Regions from separate parts of the Homo sapiens genome. Here region 2 is linked to region 1. Evidence: promoter capture Hi-C in 16 types of primary human blood cells and fetal thymus (Javierre and others, 2016). All regions are on one chromosome and are shown on one strand. Each heading gives the region's core, a stretch centred on a gene start or on the middle of the fragment in contact. The rest is flanking DNA. Distances are from core to core; before and after follow the strand shown. Region 1 holds the start of PTPRG (protein tyrosine phosphatase receptor type G). Region 2 overlaps FHIT (fragile histidine triad diadenosine triphosphatase).

What was found. Contacts are between HindIII fragments. The CHiCAGO score rates a contact against its expected background, and 5 or more counts as called.
Region 2: a fragment that was not itself captured here is called in contact with the fragment with the promoter of PTPRG in region 1 in 1 of 17 cell types (neutrophils); the score reaches 5.2 in neutrophils.

What each region holds. Positions count from the first base shown.
Region 1 is chr3:61,559,382-61,563,402 of GRCh38, forward strand. PTPRG (protein tyrosine phosphatase receptor type G) reads left to right here and starts at 2,190. Exons shown (of 30, transcript NM_002841.4): 1 at 2,190-2,991. The coding sequence starts at 2,907. RefSeq lists an enhancer at 292-967. The HindIII fragment of the contact is 7,216 bases long and covers 1-4,021 here.
Region 2 is chr3:60,604,457-60,608,477 of GRCh38, forward strand. All of the region lies in intron 4 of FHIT (fragile histidine triad diadenosine triphosphatase), which reads right to left. Among named protein-coding and RNA genes, the nearest start is that of MIR548BB, 11 kb to the right of the region's middle. The HindIII fragment of the contact is 2,101 bases long and covers 715-2,815 here.

The sequences.
Region 1 (4,021 bases), core at 940-3,439:
GTATGCTCCCATAAGGCATGGGGGCTTGCCCTTTTTGTTCGAGGCTGTGTTCCCAGTGTGTCCCTCAAACAGTAGGTGCTCAATACATTTGTTGAATGAGCAAGCAGTTTATGGCATGAATTCAGCACAATGCCTGGTAGACAGTAAGCATTCCACAAAGGACAGCTTTTACTGTCCATTTCACAGAGGAGGAAACCTCACCTGAGGACGCTGACACAAGTATTTGACGAGTTTTTCCTATTTTATCACTCGACATTAAGAAGGTAGTCAGGGATGCTGGGGTAATCTAACTTGAGGAACGAATATCCCTCATTACAACACTTCCAAGAAAAATGGCCCTCGCAATCCTTTATAAAGAAGTCAGGATTCCAATAAAACCAGGAAGGACCACATTCCAAAGCAAACAAACTCGCCTCATTCCCCACCCTGGGGGAGGGTGTTCACCCCCGTTCTGCTAAAGATAGAGCTAGGGCCCTCCCCAGGAACTTCCTGGCTTTTATTAGTTTGTAATCCCATACGTAACTTTTCAAAGGTTTTTCTTTTGGAAGTGTGGGTGTGAAAATGCTTCCTTAATCACATCGAACGGGAGGATCTCCGACCATCTGTACTTTATTTGAAAACCTAGCATCCGGTTGGGATGTTTGGGTGGGTGGAGGACCCTGCCGTGTTGGGATGAAACAGCAGGGACACGTTTAAAACACAAGAACCATGCGCGGTGGCTCACGCCTGTAATCTCAGCACTTTGGGAGGCTGAGGCAGGCGGATCACAAGGTCAGGAGTTCGAGACCAGCCTTGCCAAAACGGTGAAACCCCGCCTCTACAAAAAAAACCAAAATAAAACAAAAAACAAACAAAAAAAACCACCAAAAAAATAATCAGCCGGGCGTGGTGGCGGGCGCCTGTAGTCCCAGCTACTCGGGAGGCTGAGGCAGGAGAATCGCCCGAACCCGGGAGGCGAAGGTTGTAGTGAGCCGAAATCGAGCCACTGTACTCCAGCCTGGGCGACGGAGCGAGACTCCGTCTCAAAACAAAACAAAACAATCCCACGTCAAGATCGCTTTGAAACACAGGCAGAAAAATTAGGCAAAAAATGTCAAACGGCTAATTACCTTGGCTCAGTTACACATTTACTCGAAAGCCCGCCTCCCCCACTTTTAGCCCCAGCGTTAAGAATGTAAAATAGGGCGCTTAGAAGTCTAAGCGATAAAGATCTTCTTACCGAGAGCCAAGGGACAAAACTCATTACAGATAAGCCTAGTCCTCCCATTTCCCCCGGACGCCTCTCCCCGATTGCTAAAGAAGCAGCCGCTCCCCGGGTAGCTGCCAGGAAATCAGTCCGGCCCCGCGGCGCTGCTTTCACCCTGCAGGGTGTAAGAGGCGCACTTCCTGCGCCCTCCCCGCGGCCAAACCGGGGTGCGGGAACCTTCTCCAGAGAAGCTGCGAGTTGGGGAAACTCCGCCACCGATCCATCGTGGCGCCGGGAAAGGGGATGCGGGGCTCGGAAGGGCTAGATTTCGCAATCCTGGGATCGACATTCCTCCCCTCCCCCACTTTCCCCAGCCTTGGACTGGGCCAATGAAAGCCCGAAAAAGAAAAAAAAAAAAAATTAAATCTCAATGTAGCCGGAGTGCAAAGGCCGCTCGGCTTTGTTTCCCGGCGGGGGAATGCGCTGTGTTGGAGGCGCGAACAGGAGCCGCAGACGGTGAGCCTCACCGCTGCAAATGCCAGGGCAGTGAAGCCGAACAGAAAACCCCATCGCTTTAAAAAGGCAGCTGTCCGCCCTCCCCCTTTCCCCTCGCCAGGGCGAGGGGCCCCTCAAGTCCGGGATCCGCGAGCTGCGCGGAGGATCTCGCCAAACCCGAGCACCGTGCGGCGTCTTTTAAGAGCTCGAACAACGGGAATCCAGCAAAAAACAAGCCGGCCCCAGAAGGCAGCCTCCCTCCTCTCTCCGCGCACGGGCTACAATCGCCCCCAGTCCCCAAACTGTCCCAGTAGAGGCCGCGCGGAGAGAGCAGAGCCGAGGGACCCAGCGCAAGGCGGGAGCCAAGCGCGGCTGCTTTAAGAACGCGGAGAGCGCGCGCCCGCCGCCAGCTGGCCCGGGCTGCGCGCCCCCGCCGCCACCGCGCGCCCCCTGTTCGCTCGCTCCTTCGCTCGCCGGCTTTAAAGTCTCTGCCAGGATCCATGCTCACATGTTACTTCCTGTATGGAGGCATGGCCAGTTTCCAGCCCCGCGCTCTTCGTTCCTTCCCAGCCTGCGCCGGAGCCACAACTTTCAGGAGCATGGACTGAAGGCGCCCTCGCCCCAGCGCCCCTCTGAGATCCTTTGTGTTTTCCTCCGTTTCCTCCGGCCGTTTCTATTTTGGGGGGCTCTCCGCTCCCCCTGCCTCTCCCCTCCCCTTCCCCTCTCGCAAACATGCCTCCTTCCTTCCCGGGGCCCTGGAAGGAGCTGCCTGCCTGAAGCCCGGAGACGCCGCGCCGCGCTCAGCCCCGCCGCCGCCCGCCGGCTCTCGGGCTGTGCTGCGCTGCCGACTCAAGTTGGGGATCCTCGGCTGCTCGCCGCCGCCGCCCGCGGTCCCTGCCTGCCCCAGGCCCGGGGCATCGCCGCCGGCCGCCGACTCCGCGCCCTGCCCGATCGGCTCTCTCCTTTTTAAACGGAAAGCAGCCTTTCTCCGCCGAGAGGATCGTCCCCAGCGTGGCTCTGCGTTCCCGGTCACTTTTTGAGATTTTCCGGGGGGCGCTCGGCGGCTTCCCGGATTCCAAGGGGACTCGGGCCGCCGAGCGCGGGGGGCCCGTGGAGCGGGCGAGCCGGGGAAGCGCCCCGGCTTAGCGGAGGCTCGCACGGAGGCAAGAACTTATTCAACAAGTTTACCTCCCTGCTTTCCTCTTTTCGATGTGCGTTTTCGGACATGCGGAGGTTACTGGAACCGTGTTGGTGGATTTTGTTCCTGAAAATCACCAGTTCCGTGCTCCATTATGTCGTGTGCTTCCCCGGTGAGTGCCGGCCGCCGAGGGGATGCGGCCCCGGCCGGCGCGCGTTGGGGATGCGGAGTTGTCGCCTGGGCGCGGAGCTCCGGCGCCCGTCCGGGAGACCCTGGAGAGGGTGGAGGGTGGCCCGGCGCCCGGATAGGAGAAAAGGATTGCTCCGCTGGCTTGGATGATGTTTAGGGAGGCAGGCTAGTGGTCGAGGAAGGTGGAGGCAGGGGCTGGCCGGGGAGGGGGCTGGGGGACGCGGGGGTCTGCTCCCGCTCCCTTTTGGGGGTCCTGGGGAGCTGGAATCGGGAGAAAGGGGGACTTGCTTTGCTGACTCGTCGCCGATCGGGAGAACTCGAGTTGTGGGGCGGTTGGGGAGACTGAGGCCATGGAAAGGATGCTTCTGTGGGTTTGGGGGGCCCGGGATGAGCCCCCTCGCTCTGGCGGGTATTGAAGGAACTCAGAAGGTGGGGGTTTGCTTTGCTGTTCTCCATCCCTTTGGGAGGGCTAGGTTTCGGGGAATGGAAGTCGGAGGCTGGCTGCGGAGGACTGAGGATGTGTGGGGAGCAGCCTGCGTTCTGGGTCGGGGGCGTCCTCCCTCTCTCTGGGGGCTGGGGCGCGGGCAGCACTTCGGTGCCGGCGTGAGGCAGCCTCCTTGGGCGCAGTGAGACGGCAGGGCGCAGGCGGTTTCGGAGAGATCCGTGTCTCCCCTAGCCCCGGCCCGTGGCCCTTTCCCTCCGCTGCTCTGCTCGATTGGATTGCCTGGGTCTGGACGCGGGGAGGGGGCGGGGGCGGTTTCGGCGGCCGGGGCGGTTTCGGCGGCCGGGTTGCTGTTCGCGCCGGGGCTGATTTTTTTCCTGTCTCGCGCGCCCTGCCTACCTTCATCTTTGCCCTTTTGCAGGCTGTTCGCGGCTGGCAGACCCAGTCTCGCTCCTTTCTGGCCAGGTTAAGACAGGAACAATACTGGCCGTTGATAAGAATAAATCACCGCACGTAACGGTGTGCGGCTCGGCGACCCTCCACTTCCAGCTCTCAGCTGGCAGTTCCCCCT
Region 2 (4,021 bases), core at 515-3,014, 960 kb before region 1:
GGAAGAGCCAGACATGCATTTTTGCCGCAGATAAAATCCCAAAAGGAAAGGTTTTAAGTATGAAAGGGTTGGGCTGAAATAACATACTCAAGAATATTGCTATTCTGAGTGTTGCTTCTGCTTCCAGCTCTGACCAGGTCACTGCAGATAACAAATTATGTCATTTCTTATAGCTCTATTCCACTCATCAGCTCCCCTTCTATGCAGGAAGGAGCATGAAATGGGAAAAAAACCGAGGTTCCCACTCTTGGTGTCCTAAGTGATCAGCCACAGGAAGAAAAAGATCTCTGCTCATTTTCCCTCTCACTTACTATTGCCCAGGAATCTTGGATCTCTTCAGAATAGTGGGCAAACTGAGAGAAAGCAAGTTCATTTAATCCTCAAAACAACCCTATAGATTCCATTCTGTTATCATCATCCCCATTTCACAGATTTCACAATGGACAGGGAGGAGCAGCATTGAAGGGATCAGTAACCTGCCCAAGGTCCATTTTAACACAAGAGCTTTCTGACTTCATTCAGGCTCCCCTCTCTGTGATTGTGATTTCTCTCATGTCTAAACCATTCACATTTTTTAAAATTAGGATTTCTATGCTTAAGTATGTACCTTTGTTCACAACTAAGTTGAGGATTCTATACTCAAACACACACACACAGAGAGAGAGAGAGAGAGATGCAGTTGATTTTCCCCAATACTAATGTCCATGAACTGAAAGCTTAGGCAATAACTTAGTATAGCCACAGCTTTGGTTTGGTTCAGTTCTAGGGTACTGCTTTGCAAATTAAAGGTGTAATCCCTTCAAATCACTGCAATAAAAGTGATTTGAAATCATACTATTTGCAGTCATAATAGAAACAAATGCCTACTTAACTACTCATGGCTCAGCTCTGGTGAGAACACATCAATAGAGTAAAATGCTTTTAGCTTTCCAGAGAAAGGTTCCACCTGACAGATACCAAGAGATCAAATATTCACTCCGCTTAGGACAAAGAAGTGTACGGATTAGGACATACTTGAGAAGTCAGTTTCAGAAGGCACCAGTTTAGAAAAGAACCCTGAAAGACCTCTACCATTTATTTATATTTCAATGTATTCATTCCATTTCTTCCTATGTCTTTTCATTCATTTGTTTATCTCCTTGGTCTGTGTGCTGCAGGCTAAAACTACAGCAATTAAACACAAGGTCCTTGCATCCAGGAGTTCTTCTCAATCCAGTAATGGAAACAACTAACATCATATACTATTTTGCTTTATTTTCTGCTAGAGGTACGGACAGGAGGTGCTGTGGGAACACAGCTAATGGGGCACCTGGTTCTTGCCTATGAGAGTTTTGAGAAGGATACCTGAAGTAGGGTTTAGAAACTGACCATCACAGGGGATGGGAGAGGAGGAAAGATAAAGTTATAAGGAATTCTCAAACTTTGAACATGTGAATGTCCTATATGTATCTGTAAATAGTATATAAAAACACTATAGTATCTGACTGCTCTGTCACAGATGAAAACCTTCAAAGAGAAGCTGATCATAGACACAATTATAGAAACCAGGGGATGTTATCTCGCCCAAGTCTGCCTGACTACTTTTAAGGATGCTAAATTCCTAATCTCTCAAGGATGACATTCTTCTTGCCCCAGAGTGTGCTAGAGCCAGAGGGACCAACTCTTTCTCCCTAACTTCCTACCCAACAAAGAATCCTCCTCTACAATATTCCTAATGGATGTTTACTATAGCAAACATCACTTGTTCAGTTTTGGTTCCTCAGTCCCTATTCCCTCATTGTAATAGCATTTTTTTTTTTTTTGAGATGGAGTCTCGTTCTGTCACCCAGGCTGGAGTGCAGTGACGCAATCTTAGCTCACTGCAACCTCTGCCTCCCGGATTCAAGTGATTCTCATGCCTCAGCCTCCCAAGTAGCTGGGACTACAGATGCCCACTGCCATGCCCAGGTAATTTTTTGTGTTTTAGTAGAGATGGGGTTTCACCATGTTACCCAGGCTGGTCTCAAACTCCTGAGTTCAGGCAATCTGCCCGCCTCAGCCTCCCAAAGTGCTGGGATTACAGGCGTGAGTCACCGAGCCCAGCCTGTGATAGCATCTTGATTCACTTTTAGGGACTTTTCTCCTATTATAAGCCACCATTAGGATAGTGAATTGGGTGCCTTTTCATTCCACTCCAGAATTTGAGGTCCTGGAGACTTCTGGTATATTTTCTGCTGTAATGGAAAAAGGATGAGCATGTGTCCTAAGCTCAGTTAATTGGACCTTCTCTTCCAGGGCTCTGAATCCTAAGAAGAGTGACATGCCACTCACTCACTCATTGCTGTAATGGCTTCTTAATAGCCAAGTAGACTCCATCTTGATACTTTCCTGTTTCTAAGCCTAGTCCCTCCTGCCCGCATCTTGATTCTGTTAACTCCCCGATATCCTTCTATTTGTAACAAATTCCTTTTCTACTTATATTAACCTCAGTCTCTGTTACCTGCTTCCACTGGAACTCTGATTCTGCTTGAATCCTTCCATTAATGGGAATATTACTACATTGAGAGGCTGCTCATTCCATTGCTGGACCTCTATATTTGTTTCAAAAGTTGTTAATTCAAGCTAAAGCCGGGTTCTCTATTACTAGTGTCTGTCATCAGGAATTAGAAAGAATAAATTTTAGTCCCTCTTCCATATGGCAGTCACTATAGTATCCAAGGAAGGGCAAATAATCATTGATAACCACACCACTAAAGCCCTTCTCCCAGCTGAAAACCACCAGGGTTTTTATAAATCTTCTAGAATAATATAAATTTTCAGACACCACAGAAATAGAAGCTTTGAATTGCCGATGAGCAGATTAATCATTTTCAGATGGTCTCAGGGAACTAAACAGTCACTTCCTCGGTGGGCCTCTTTCGAAGAGGGCACTTTCATGTTTATTACTTGCAAGGGTTGGCAAATGGTAGAATTCTTTTTTAGGATGATAAGGATTTATATTTCTATCTAGTCTGCCACTAATTAAAAGTATATTATCTTCCCTACTGAAGTTGGGGTAATTGGTGGTTATTTTCAGAGCAACTCATCAGGGTGAGACAGATTCTTTCTGATTGAGGTAGCAGAGGTGTTGAACATTCATTGTGTACTGAGTTCACGTTTCTAGTATCACAATTTCCCACACCACATGCGTGATAGATGTGTCTTCAACATTTGCAAACAATTCCAAGTCATTTCTCCCTTCAATTATTCCCTCTTCTCTGACATCCTAACAAGGTTTTCATTTTGTACTAATTTCACTAATTTAGGAAAACTTTTGTCTGCAATACATACATATACATATATACACACATATACATATATACACACATATAAACATATATGTATATATATTCATATTCTTGAGAAGTAGGCCAGAAACTTGGCTTGCTGTGAAAATCAGAGGGGAAATAAAAAGGATGAATGGAGAATAGTGTCTATTCCCTTTGGCACTTCTTACCTAATACTCAAGCCCCTTACTTGCTGAAACTCAAGTCTTCTCCTCCCTGCTCCCACTTGCCTTATATCTTCTCTCAATGAGTGAGGATTAAGGGCAGGTACTTCTCCCATTCCAGAGAAGCAGCAGCTCCATCTGGAGCACTCTGCCTCTTTCTGATGGAGCCCTCAGGGGTGTACACTGTAATGTCCATCTTCCCTCGTCTGCTCACGCAGAGGACAAGACTCTCACTCTCACCCTCTTTCTTTCCCTATCTAATTTTCTCTCCTTTCTCTCTCTCTTTCCTCTTCATTTCTAGTGGCCACCAGCTCTGAAGGTAACATCCCAGCCTGAGTAGGCCTGAGCCAATTATTCTAGACCAGAATCAGCGGGGGTAAACACAAACACTCTCATTCTCTAGCTGTTTCCTCAGGTGCTATGGCTGTTCTGGACTGTTCTCCCCTTCCACTGCTCAGATGATATATGACACTCAATTACAGTTGAAGAGAAATGGATCAACTGCTCTAGATCCAGGCCCCTGAAGCTACTTTAATATGTACATAAGTGTTC